Linked DNA regions of Homo sapiens: all the other regions are linked to region 1. The links are contacts of gene promoters, found by promoter capture Hi-C in blood cells and fetal thymus (Javierre and others, 2016). All regions are on one chromosome and are shown on one strand. Each heading gives the region's core, a stretch centred on a gene start or on the middle of the fragment in contact. The rest is flanking DNA. Distances are from core to core; before and after follow the strand shown. Region 1 holds the start of MAP3K6 (mitogen-activated protein kinase kinase kinase 6). Region 2 overlaps LOC101928391 (a long non-coding RNA gene). Region 3 overlaps LOC101928391 (a long non-coding RNA gene). Region 4 holds the start of LINC02574 (long intergenic non-protein coding RNA 2574).

Region 1 (2,999 bases), core at 320-2,819:
CTAGGGCCTGCATGAGTCAACATGTATGCGATTTGTGTCTGTCGATAATTGTATCTTTGTGTCCGAGTGGTCGGGTCAGCCTTCATTTTAGGCTACGATTTCATGGACATCCAGGAAGCACAGCTACTGGACTCTAGCATAAGCAAGTAAGTATGGGGGCCGAGCATCCGGGCTGGCTGGAGGGAGGAGTGACTCGCGGGGGAATAGCCTCCTTCTGGCCCCGCCCCTGAGCCATCCTTTCCCGCCCACTTCCCCGCCCCTTCCCCGCCCATTCTTTCTGGGCCGCTGAGGCCACTTAACCTAAGCTCCCTCACCCAGTATCCAGTCCCGTCGGGCCCCTTCGCTTCTCTTTTTGCCTCTCCTAGCCCGATCCTTGGAAATAGTATGCTAGGACTCCTGAACTCCAGCCTCCCGGCCCCTTTCCCTAAGTCCAAGCTCCTCTCCCAGTAATTGTCCTCAAGAGATCCGCGTGACATTCTCCTGAGGGTGAGGCTGAGTTCTCCAACCCCACCCCTGAGACACCACAGCCCCGCGCCGCTCCCCGCCCCGCCCCAGAGTTCCAAAGCCCCTCCCCATCCTTGCCCCGCTGGCTGGGCACCGCTCCGACTGAAGGGTGCCTAAGCCCCAACCTCGAGCCCTAGAGCCGCGCCCGGATCCCTGTCTCGTCCCGAGCCCGGCCGCGCCCCAGATCCCCTAAATCCCACTTTTTTCACGGCCCTGTCCCAAGCCCTTCAGCTTTAGCTCACTTTAAGTCCCCTAGACCCGGTACCCCTCTCGGCCCCTCCCTTGAGCCTTCGAGCCCGGCTTGGTCCCCTCCCAGGACCCTGAGTCCCGCCCGGATCCGGCCCCGCCCCCAGCGCTCTCACCCGCGTTGTAGAAGGCATCCAGAGCCGCGGTGTCGCCTAGCTCCAGCGTCCCGAAGGGCAGGCTGCGCAGCTGCGGGGGCGGCCGCGGCCGGGGGACCTGCGCGCAAGCCTCGCGCAGGCAGCGCAGGGGCAGCGGCTCCGCCTCGGTTCCCTCCCGAGGCTCGAGCCCGGGCTGCGGCTCCCGGGTCAGCACGTAGACCACGCTGAGCGGCCGGCTCCGCGCGCAGCCCCGGCCCGGGGGCGCCGCGAGCTGCCGGCCCCGGCTCAGCGCCACGGCCAGCGGGTCCTGCCAGCAGCTGCCGGCGCGCTCCGCCCCGGACCGGGGACACGGCCCCGCCATGCGGGGGCGCTCAGGCGCGGGGCGCCGCGCACTGGGAACCGGGGGCGGGGCAGGAGCCTGGGCCGGCAGATCAGGAATCTTGGGATCTGGAATCCGTTCGGAATCGGAGAATCTCCCACGGGATCTAGGGATCCGGAATACGGCCTGACGTCCCGTTCCAGGAATCTAAAGTCCAGGGAGAAATCCTAGCTCGGACTTGCAAGGTCCTGAGGTTCTGAAATCCGGGATTGGGTCCCAGGAATCTGGGGCATCCGGTGATCGGCAGCTCAGAGCCACTTGGGGGATCCTGGGAATCGGCTCGGAGGTGCCCGCCACCTGGACTTCTCAAGGGAGCGCCCGCCAACGCTGCCCTGCCTTCACTTGTAGGCTAAGCCCAGCCCTTTCCCGGCCGACCCAGAAAGCTCCACCCTCGGCCCTGGGGCAGAGCCGCTCCCTAGCGGCTTGAGACTCAGCCTCTCCCCTCCCTTCTCTCCCGCCAGAACTTTGGAGACTGGCGGCTTCCGGAACAGCCTGTGCCCCTGTGCACGCCAAAGACTGTGGACTGCTCACAGCAAGTGCACATAAAATGTGTGAGGAGGCCAGGGCTAGGGAAAAGGTTCGATATGCAGGCCCTGCTCTGCAGGTATCTGTTGAATGAATGGCTCTCTAGAGACATCAGGGTGCGCAGAGCATGATGAACAATGGGTGTCCTCCCGGGCCCAGTGAGCGCAGGCAGGGAGGGACTGGGATGGGGGAAACCTACACCCTAGGCCGCTTGCCCGAAAGCCTTCAGTCCTGGAGTGGGACTTGGCATCTGAGCCTTAACTGTCACTAGGGGGCTGCTTTCCCCAGGACCCAACCTGCTGTGGACCCCCGCTGACCTTTGACTTCTAGGCAGAACGTGGCCATGGGACCTGAGAAGCACTTCCTACTCTAAACAACTCTAAACATTTCTTTAGCCACCCCTTGAAGGAGTCAACCCCAGCCCTTTGCACTACAGCAGCTTCTCAGCTTCAAATCCCCAAGAGTCCCCAACTTTCTTGTGTGAATTAATGAGTGAGGCAGCAACCTGGTAGAAGCCTCAGTGGACCCTGAAACCAAGAACTGGGGACTTAAGTTGAATAACTTGTCCAGGATCACTCAGCACATGACAGCAGGGTGCAAACCCAGGACCGCCTGTCAGACTCTTAACTATTTAATTCTGCCACTTACTAGAATGTGGCTTTGGGCAAATAAACTGCTTAAATGCTACTCAATGGCTGTTTCATTGCCCTGTTGCCTTGTGGAAGAAAAAGGTACCTTCCTTGGTTTGACCTTGGATTCGAACTGACACCCAATGAGATAGGCAGGAAGTGGTAGAGTTTGAGAACTTGGCCTGCAACAGAGGCTGGAGTGGAAAACAGACAACTTACAAAGGACAGGCATGGGCAACCGACAGGCTGAGAAAGCTGTGCAATTCCCAGCCAGGGCGGTGGCTCATGCCTGTAATCCCACTTTGGGAGGCCAAGATGAGTGGATCACGAGGTCAGGAGTTCGAGACCAGCCTGGCCAACATGGTGAAACCCCGTCTCTACTAAAAATACAAAAAAAAGTAGCTGGGTGTGGTGGCACCTGCCTGTGATCCCAGCTACTTGGGAGCTGAGGCAGGAGAATCACTTGAACCTGGGAGATGGAGGTTGCGGTGAGTGGAGATCGTGCCATTGCACTCCAGCCTGGGCGGGGCGACAGAGCAAGACTCCATCTCAAAAAAAAAAAAAGCTATGCAATTGTGCAATTCCTGCCACAAAGCCATCCACTTGCAGGACCCAGAGGGC
Region 2 (2,999 bases), core at 375-2,874, 330 kb before region 1:
ATCACCTGAGGTCAGGAGTTCGAAACTAGTCTGAGCAACATGGTGAAACCCCATCTCTACTAAAAATACAAAACTTAGCTGGGCGTTGTGGTGGGCACCTGTAATCCCAGCTACTTGGGAGGCTGAGGCAGGAGAATTGCTTGAACCCAGGAGGCGGAGATTGCTGTGAGCTGATACCACACCACTGTACTCCAGCCTGGGTGACAAGAGTGAAACTGTGTCTCAAAAAAATAAAAATAAAAATAAATAAATAAATAAAAATAAAATAGAAATAATAATAGAACAGTGCCTGGCACATAATAGGCACTATGTAAGTGTTGGTTGTTGTTGCTAAATTGTCATTTTATTAATTTTAAGTTATTTTGTGCCCCCTTTTGGCTGTTTCTGCCAGCCTGCAAGGTTGCAGGAACACGAGGTTTTTCTGCACTGGTGATCTGGTGTCAGGCTCCAGCCTCGAGCTTGCTCAGAGGTAGTCGCAGGGATGAAAGCAGGGGTAGCAGCTTCTTAAATCCAGCTTTCTGATCCCTGCATTGAAGCTTCAGTGGTAAGTTGTTGAATTCATAGCTCTGGCGTTGACTTTCTCAGTGGGTCGAGTATGGAAAGGTCTGGAATCATTCCTGGAGGCCTGGCTCATTGAGCCTCTCTGATGGTTGTGCAAGGACCTACTGCTCTGTATTAAATACTTTGCTGCTAAAAACACCAAGAGGGGTTTCTGTTTCCTGCATTGACCCTGCCCTCACCAGACCCTGCCGCATTCTCTGCATCCCCTCTTCTGGGTCCTCATCTCTGCTGCTCCTTCCTTGGCGTCATCATTGCCACCTCCATGCGTTCTGGAACTCTACCTTCCAGGCTCCCCCTCCCTGAGTCCTCTCCTCTCGGTCTCTTCCTCTTCCTCCTTCACGGTGGGGCTTCTCGGGGGGCTGGCCACCGCAGCCTCACATGTCCCAAACTCATTGCATGGTCTTCTCTCCCCAGTTTGGCCTGTTTTAGCCTGGGGCCCAAACCACAAAGAAAGCTGGGAGCCTCCTTAGAACTTGAGCCTCTTTCCTCCCTCCACTCTGTCTGGGCCTTCTAACATTCAGTGAGCGCCTACTGTGTACTGGGCCGAGCAGCACCCAGAGTTGAGGCTGACCCAGTGTGGGCTCCTGGATGTATGTAAACACCTGTGAAGTTCCGCAAATGGGAGGGATGGGGGAGAGCTCTGTAATAAGTCTAGATTTTTAACAGTCAACAGGGAGGTTCAAAGATGCGGCCGCCTTGCCTCAGTTTGGGTCGCCTCTAAAGGGCCCTTTCAGCCCCAGAATTCCCTGTGGAATAGGCTGAGGCCTTGGCTGTAGCTTCTGCTTCTCACTCCCTTTTGGGGTGGTCCCTGAGAGCAGCCCCCCGTAAGCTGCTGAGTGAGGATCTCCTCTGAGTCTGTTTCAGGGTCCCAGAGCCCAGAGCCCAGAGCCCAGAGTGACTGCTCCTGAGACAACCAACCAGCCATAGTGGAGGCTCTGGCTTGGCTTCAGCCCCCCGAGGGTCAGACTTTACTGCCTCCTCCTTCTTTCTCCATTTCGGGAGCCACCGCCTGAGGCCAAGGTTGTGGCCTGTCTAAATCTCCACAGCTTCTTAAGTGGTTTCCCCCCCCCCGGCTCTCTTGCCTCTTCTGACCCCTTCTCCACAGGGCAGCCAGAAGGATCCAAGCAGATCCAGCCAATCTCCAGCTTAAGCCCTTCAAGGCTACCCATTGCTTTGACGATAAATTGAGCTCCTGACCCCGGGGGTTACCTCCCAGCTCTGCACACCTCCTCTCAGCTGCTGCAGCTGCCTCAAGGCTGCCTCCCTGTTCCCCATGCCTCCCTCTGTAGCAGGGCTCTTTTCCATTTCCCTCAGCTCCTTTCCAGCCTTCAAATTTCAGTCAAATGTCCCATCCTCAGGGACAAGGGCATGTCTGCTCCCCAGGGGCAGCCTGTTACTGGTTAATGGGAGGCTCAAAGGCCTGGCCACCTTGCCTCAGTTTGGGTCCACTCTGAAGGGCCTTCCCAGTTTCTCAGGGAAACCACTTCTTTTTTTTTTTTTTTTTTCGAGGTGGAGTCTCCCTCTGTCGCCCAGGCTGGAGTGCAGTGGCGCGATCTCGGCTCACTGCAACCTCTGCCTCCCGGGTTCACGCCATTCTCCTGTCTTAGCCTCCTGAGTAGCTGGGACTATAGGCACCTGCCACCACGCCTGGCTAATTTTTTGTATTTTTAGTAGAGATGGGGTTTCACCATGTTAGCCAGGATATTCTCGATCTCCTGACCTTGTGATCTGCCCACTTCGGCCTCCCAAAGTGCTGGGATTACAGGTGTGAGCCACTGCGCCCGGCAATCCAATTTCTAACTACATATTTATTCGTGTGATTAACTACTGGATGTCTGTAAGTCGTCCAGGTGCAAGGACAGTACCTACCTCGTTCACCAGGATATACTGGAAGCCCGGCACCATGCCTGGCTTACATAAGAGGCACTCTGTAAAAGCTGAATGAGTGAATGGAGGGATGAATGAATGAAAGCACTCTGTAAACTCTAAAGCAGGAGTGATGGGAAAGGATGGACGATAGTAATTGTAAAATAACTACTGTCTAGCAGGCAGAGGCAGCAACACAGCAGGAGTCTCCCCAGCCTGTGGCTGGGCAGGCTGTACCCTGAGTGGCCTCTTCCCCACCGCACCTCACCCTACACTCCAGGGTCACAAGCTTGGTAAGTCTGAAAATAACAGCAGCTATTTCACCCATACTGCCTCATTGAACCTGCACGAGAGGATCTTGGGGTGATGCTATCATTATTCCCACTGTAAAGATTTGGAAACTGGGGCTCAGGGAGCTTCAGTAATTTACCCAAGATAAATGAATGGTGGGGCTGGGATTCAAACATAGGTCTATCGAAGGTCATAGCCCACCCAAGCGTTCATGTTGACACTCTCCTGCCCCTCTGGTCACCTTTAAACCTTTCAATCTCTTCATCCCCATCTTTTTTTTT
Region 3 (2,999 bases), core at 294-2,793, 310 kb before region 1:
AGCTAAAAGTTGTCTAAAGAGTTGGGAGTTTCCTAGCTTAGCCAACATAAGAGGAGACCTCTATCTTTACAAATAATTTTTTTTTTTTTTTTTTTTTTGGAGACAGAGGCTTGCTCTGTTGCCCAGGCTGGAGCGCAGTGGTGCGATCTCGGCTCACTGCAACCTCCACCTCCCGGGTTCAAGTGATTCTTCTGCCTCAGCCTCCCAAGTAGCTGGGACTACAGGCACATACCACCACGCCTGGCTAATTTTTGTATTTTTAGTAGAGATGGGGTTTCCTCATGTTGGCCAGGCTGGTCTTGAACTCCTGAACTCGTGATCTGCCCGCCTCAGCCTCCCAAAGTGCTGGGATTACAGGCGTGAGCCACTGTGCCCGGCCTTCTCCGAATAATTTTTTTAAATGAGCCAGGTGCGGTGGTATGTGCCTGTGGTCCCAGCTACTCAGGAGGCTGAGGCAGGAGGATCGTCTGAGCCTGGGAGGTCAAGGCTGCAGTGAGCCATGATCACACCACTACAGTCCAGCCTCCAGCCTCTGCAATGGAGTGAGAGTGTCTCAAAAAAAAAAAAAAAAAAAAAAAAACACAACAAAAAAACCCCACAGGACTTTTATCTTAAGATATCTTGGGGTAGACCATTTTTGAGTCAAGGCCCTCATGGTTGAAAGATGACTACCGTGGCTCCAAGCATCATATCCACAGAGAGCAACTAAATAACAGCTGTTATATATTGAGTACTTATCATGTGCTAGAACTGTCTGGGCATTTTAGGTGTATTCACTCATTTGATTTTCACAGCACCCTGAGAAGAAAGTCCAATTATTTTCATTTTGCAGAGGAGGAACACGAGGTACAGAAAGGTCAAGTAATCTGCTTAAGACAACACAGCCAATCGGAGGCAGAGCCATGCTTTTAGCCCAGATGGTTTGACCCTGGAGCCTGCACTTTTGTGTGGCTGCATTTGCCACGGGCAGCATCTCAGGAAGGGAGGCTTGGACAGGGGTCCTCCTAAAACATCTCTTTTTGTAAGAGGAGGAAAATTCCTCCCAGAAGCCCCCAGCAGCCTCCCCCTCTTATCTCATTGGCCAGAACAGGGTCCCATGGTTCTCCCCAACCCAATTACCAGCAGAGGGGAGTGGATCAAATGTAAATATCCCAGTCACCATCCACCTGGGGGTAATTAGTACATTGTCCTCCCACCAGAACAAAACAAGCTTCTTTTAGCAAGGAAGCGGGGGGGCAAATATCTGCCCCTAGGCAGAACCCATGGTTGGTAGCTGGGGTCCGCCAGCCCACTGGGATTGAAATAAGGTTGGCTCAGACCCCATCCCTTACTTTCCACAAGGCTTCTGCAATTTCTCAGGCTTACAATTGTGTGCCTCTGATTTCCGGCTTCTGCTGAATTCTAGCAGCTGTTCCCTTTATTTCTGCCCTGGAATTGACTCAAATGTAGGATGCAGCCCGTTTCTTCTCCCAAGAAACCGTGGATACCAGACTGCTCTGTAAGCAGAATTTCACTAAGATTTGTGGGTCCCTGGAAGAGTTATAGAGTGGCTCAGCACACGACTGAAAGTGGCACTGGGACGTCTCTGCTCTTACAAGCTGGTTTCTCAGGCATCCTCCAGCCCCGCCCGCACAGGGCTGCTGCTCCCATCTGCTGGCGCCCATGCCCATCTACCCGCCTCCCTTCTTCAGCCCCTGCGTGACAGACACCTCGATGCCCCAGGGGCTTCCAATTCTCACACAGGAGACCCTGCATTTCAGCTCTCCCTAGCCCCTCCTGCTCTTCCCAAACCAGGCTGCCAAGCCAAACCCAGTAAGGGCCTTTTAAGAACAAAAGGGCCTTTTAGTTAATGCAGCAGGATCTACTTTCCTTAGAAGGAAGCTTTGGTTATAAATAACAACCTTTCCCCTCTGGATTCCTCCAGGTGCATTGGAAATTCAAATTTCAGAATAAGCTGACTGCCAAGAGGGCCCTCCCCCTGTCGGGAGTCCCTTAGTCCATGGGAAATTCACAGAGAAGGAAACAGTCACTTTTCCTGCACCTGAGAAGGTAAAAATCAAACTGCCTTAGAAAGATTCTGTCCTCCTAAAAACTGGTGCCTCTGTACACCTCAAGGAGTCAGCAGGCTCTCCCTCCGAGGCTTAAAAGCCTCAGGGATTTCTTTTTTTCTTTTTTTCTTTTTTTTTTTTTGAGACGGAGTCTCGCTCTGTCACCCAGGCTGGAGTGCAGTGGCGCGGTCTTGGCTCACTGCAACCTCTGCCTGCCGGGTTCAAGTGATTCTCCTGCCTCAGCCACCTGTGAGCCACCGTGCCAGCCAGCCTCAGTGATTTCTTAGGAGCCTGTTGTATGCAATCTTGAGGGCTGAAGAAGTGAGAGGGACCCACCCCATCCTACCTCTACAGAATGCTTGGCACCCCCACCAATGTTCCTAGACTCCATCTCAGGACCAAGGTAGTGTAGACCCAAAGCCCGGCCCTATCCTGGCTCCCAAGCATCCCACAGCCTCTGGGGTAGAGGTGGTTAGAGGCACCAGCTCTAGACCTTGGCTGCCTTCTGTCTGCCCTCAGGGTCTGCTCAGATCAGGACACCCCCTCCCCCAGGCTGGGGCTCAGCCTCAGCATCCTTGGCAGGGCTCCCCACAGGGGCATTTCCACAACTTTCCAGCCCTGGCCTCCTGTTCAAGGGTTCGGCCTCAGGCAGGACTAGAGCTGAGTTGCAGAGGAGGAGGAGGAGCGGGGAGAGAGCCGAGTAGTTCAGGTTGCCGCAGGGGAGACAGGAGGGAGGAGAAGAGAAGGAGGGGAGGGAGCGAAGGTCCTCAGAACCCAAGTGCGGGGCAGCCTCAGGAAGGTGACTTCTGTTATTCTCCCTGTGTGCTGTGTCTTTAGGAAAATCCCCCTCACACGACAGCCCAACAGCCTTATACCCGCAGTTGCTCTGGGAGCAGGGGAAAATGTCCTGCAGTTCTTGCCCCTCATTTGGGTCAACTCCAGGACAGAAGT
Region 4 (2,999 bases), core at 190-2,689, 290 kb after region 1:
CCCGCCCAGTGGCCTTGCCTGGGAAAGGCGACTGGGGCACCGGTGGGTGCGGACCCTCAAAGGGTGAAAATAATTCCCGTGTGAATTGCGCGCATTATAACTGCTCTAAGAAATGCAGCCAGGGCATTTTAAAATGTATTTTTTCAATCACTCCTCTTCCAGCCATTTATCCGTCCGTCTGTATGTATGTCTATCCAGTCAGCCAAAGTAATTGGGTGCCTCCTGAGTGCCAGGCGCTGTGCTGGGTTCTAGCTATAAAGAGAGATGAACCCTCTGCTTGTCCTCAGGGAGCTCATAATCTAGGGCGGAAGCCTGATGGTAACAAATGCTCATGCCATCGTTTTCATTGCAGTCATGATTCATTCTGGGACGGTGAGATACAGGCTGCTGCAATAACCAGGTGTCTAACTTGGATTGGGGCTCAGGTCCCTGTAGAAGTTACATCGAGCCGACTCCTGAAGCAACAAGTGTTCCAGGCAGAGGGAAGAGCTTGTGCAAAGGCAATGAGGCTAGCAGGCTGGAAAATAAGGGAAAGGAAACTGAGTGAGATGAGGCTCTGGAGGTTTACGGGAGCGAATTATTTAAGACCTTGGAGGCCATAGTAAGGAAATAGAATTTTCTTCTAAGTGCTGTGGGCAGTCACTGGGTACTTAGTGTTTTAAAATCTCCCTACCTCTGTGTGGAGAATAGACAGGAGTGGATACGGGAGTAAGAGTGGACACAGGGACACCTAGGAGGTGCCCTCCAGCATGGAAGGTAGTAAGCTAGATGAGAGGGAGGCTACTGTGGGTGGGACATGAACAGATTCAATAAATAATTAGAAGATACAATCCTCAGGCAGGTGGGTTGATGGATTGAATATGGGGGTGGGTGAGGCAGAGGGAGTTAAGATTAAGTCATTCATTCATTGGACAATTATTTATTGAGCCCCTCTAGATGCCAGGCACTGTTCTACAGAGGCAGACTCTCTGGGTTCAAATCCTTGTCCTGTCACTTGCTAGCTGCTTGCCTTAGGGAAATTATTTAACCTCTCTGTACCTTGATCTCTTCATCTGTAAAATGCGGATCCTAAGAACACCCGAGAGAATTATTGTAAGGATGAAAAGAGTTAATATATGTAAAACTTTGGACCTGGGTGTTTGGAGCTGGGCTCTGAGGCTGAGGACTGGGACTTGGGTACTTGGGGTTGGGTACCCGGGCCTACTTCTTGGAGTCACCAAGACTCTATGTCTTTACTGGCTTTATACAGAAAATTAAAAGAGTGACATGGAGAGCAAGCTGTTCCCACACCGTGAGTGAGACACAGGTATCCATACAATTTTAAGCTCTCAGATGATTCCAAGGGGCAGACAAGTTGGCAATTACTATGGTAGAGAGAAACAAGGAGGCAATTTTAAAGTAGGTGGTCAGGGAGGGCTTCTCTGAGGAGGTGACATTTGAGTGAAGACCAAAGAGTGCAGAAGGAGCCATCACTGAAAAGTTAGGGGGAAAAGCCTTTGGGAAGGTGTCTGGCCTAGGCACCGGCATGCCTGGAGGTGTCTTTGGCCCAAGTGTGAAAGACTGAAGGAGAAATGGGCTTAGTTTGGTGGGTTCCAAGGATAGTGATCATGGCTGAGTGAAGACCCCTACCCCTTCTGCAGATCAGAACCTGGAGCAGTTAAACCACGCTGTGCCCTGGTAGCTGTGGGTGCTGGGAGGCAAGCTCTACTGGTTCATCAAGAATTTGTGGTCAGGCTGAGGCAGGCAGATCACCTAAAGTCAGGAGTTCAAGACCAGCCTGGCCAACATGGCGAAACCCCGTAGCTACTAAACATACAAATATTAGCCGGGCATGGTGGCACGCACCAGTAATCCCAGCTACTCGGGAGGCTGAGGCAGGAGACTCGCTTGAACCCGGGAGGTGGAGGTTGCAGTGAGCCGAGATCGCACCATTGCACCATTGCCCTCCAGCCTGGGTGACAGAGCGAAACTCCATCTAAAAAAAAAAAAAAAAAAAAAAAACTAGCTGGATGTGGTGGTCCATGCCTGTGGTCCCAATTGGGAGGCTAAGGTGGGAGGATCACTTGAGCCCAGGAGGTCAAGGCTGCAGTGAGCCGTGATTGTGCTACTGCACTCCAGCCTGGGCGACAGAGCAAGACCCTGTCTCAAAAAAAAAAAAAAATCTCTCCTGTGGGCCCATGCCATTTGTTCACACAGATAATGAACCAGTGGGCCTCTGCCAGCTTCTGACTTGGCACTGGACGTTTCTCTGGGAACTGGTGCTTGGAGCGGGGAAATGGGGGCTGGATTTCTGGGACTGGGTTCTGAGGCTGGGGACTGGGACTTGGATACTGGGGGGTAGGTGCTTGGACTTGCTTTTTGGAATAACCAAGGCTCCATTTCTTTACTGGCCTCTACAGATGAGCCTGTTCCCTAACCTGACTATCCTTTCTGTGGCTTCACGGCACAGAACTTCACAAGTGTGACCTTACCTTGTCTCAGCTGTCTGTTCCATGGAGACCCAGAAAGAGGGAAAGAGAAGGCTGCTCTGGACCTGTTCATGGGGCCTTCCTGGGACCCCTTTTCCGCCCGCTAAGCCAGGAAGCCTATGCTCCCTCATCTTCCACCCCTCCCCCAGCCATCTGCTTAAAGGAAGTGGCTCCTCTGTTCTTCACAGGAAGCCACAGGCCTCCCCTGCCTCGGCAGCCTCCAGCTACTGTTGCCCCAGACCCTCGGCTGGCCCAGACCCCCCTTTCCAGGCAGAATCTAGTGATGCCCAGTTCCCAGCATCCCCCTCTGCTGCCCAGCCAAGAAGTGCGTGTGGTGTGCTCCTCTCGTTAACTTTCATCCTTGTGACTTGGGTCTGGGAGCGCAGGCAGTGAGCCTGGAGGTGAGACCTGACTACAGGAGTTTGGAGATCCCCAAGTTGTAGGACTGAGGACTTGAAGGGAAGAGGAGGTGGGCCCTGGAGGGATTCTCTGATGGACCACTCTTGTGAGCTTCAGTAGCTCCTGCTGCTG

What was found. Contacts are between HindIII fragments. The CHiCAGO score rates a contact against its expected background, and 5 or more counts as called.
Region 2: a fragment that was not itself captured here is called in contact with the fragment with the promoter of MAP3K6 in region 1 in 1 of 17 cell types (M0 macrophages); the score reaches 5.3 in M0 macrophages.
Region 3: a contact is called between a fragment that was not itself captured here and the fragment with the promoter of MAP3K6 in region 1, in 2 of 17 cell types (endothelial precursors and M0 macrophages). The highest score is 6.4, in endothelial precursors.
Region 4: a fragment that was not itself captured here is called in contact with the fragment with the promoter of MAP3K6 in region 1 in 2 of 17 cell types (total CD4 T cells and naive CD8 T cells); the score reaches 5.5 in total CD4 T cells.

The regions. Positions count from the first base shown.
Region 1 is chr1:27,365,392-27,368,390 of GRCh38, forward strand. It overlaps MAP3K6 (mitogen-activated protein kinase kinase kinase 6), which reads right to left and starts at 1,570. Exons shown (of 29, transcript NM_004672.5): 1 at 867-1,570. The coding sequence starts at 1,206. RefSeq lists silencers at 159-228, 819-868, 939-1,158, 1,189-1,298 and enhancers at 551-1,494, 1,495-2,436. The HindIII fragment of the contact is 32,893 bases long and covers 1-2,999 here.
Region 2 is chr1:27,038,620-27,041,618 of GRCh38, forward strand. All of the region lies in intron 3 of LOC101928391 (a long non-coding RNA gene), which reads left to right. Among named protein-coding and RNA genes, the nearest start is that of TENT5B, 27 kb to the left of the region's middle. The HindIII fragment of the contact is 2,180 bases long and covers 535-2,714 here.
Region 3 is chr1:27,056,474-27,059,472 of GRCh38, forward strand. It overlaps LOC101928391 (a long non-coding RNA gene), which reads left to right. Exons shown (of 8, transcript XR_007065559.1): 6 at 1,925-2,049. Among named protein-coding and RNA genes, the nearest start is that of TENT5B, 45 kb to the left of the region's middle. RefSeq lists silencers at 1,565-1,859, 2,585-2,879. The HindIII fragment of the contact is 671 bases long and covers 1,209-1,879 here.
Region 4 is chr1:27,660,206-27,663,204 of GRCh38, forward strand. It overlaps LINC02574 (long intergenic non-protein coding RNA 2574), which reads right to left and starts at 2,517. Exons shown (of 2, transcript NR_151722.1): 1 at 2,472-2,517; 2 at 123-517. RefSeq lists enhancers at 2,133-2,648, 2,370-2,579, 2,649-2,999. The HindIII fragment of the contact is 8,150 bases long and covers 1-2,999 here.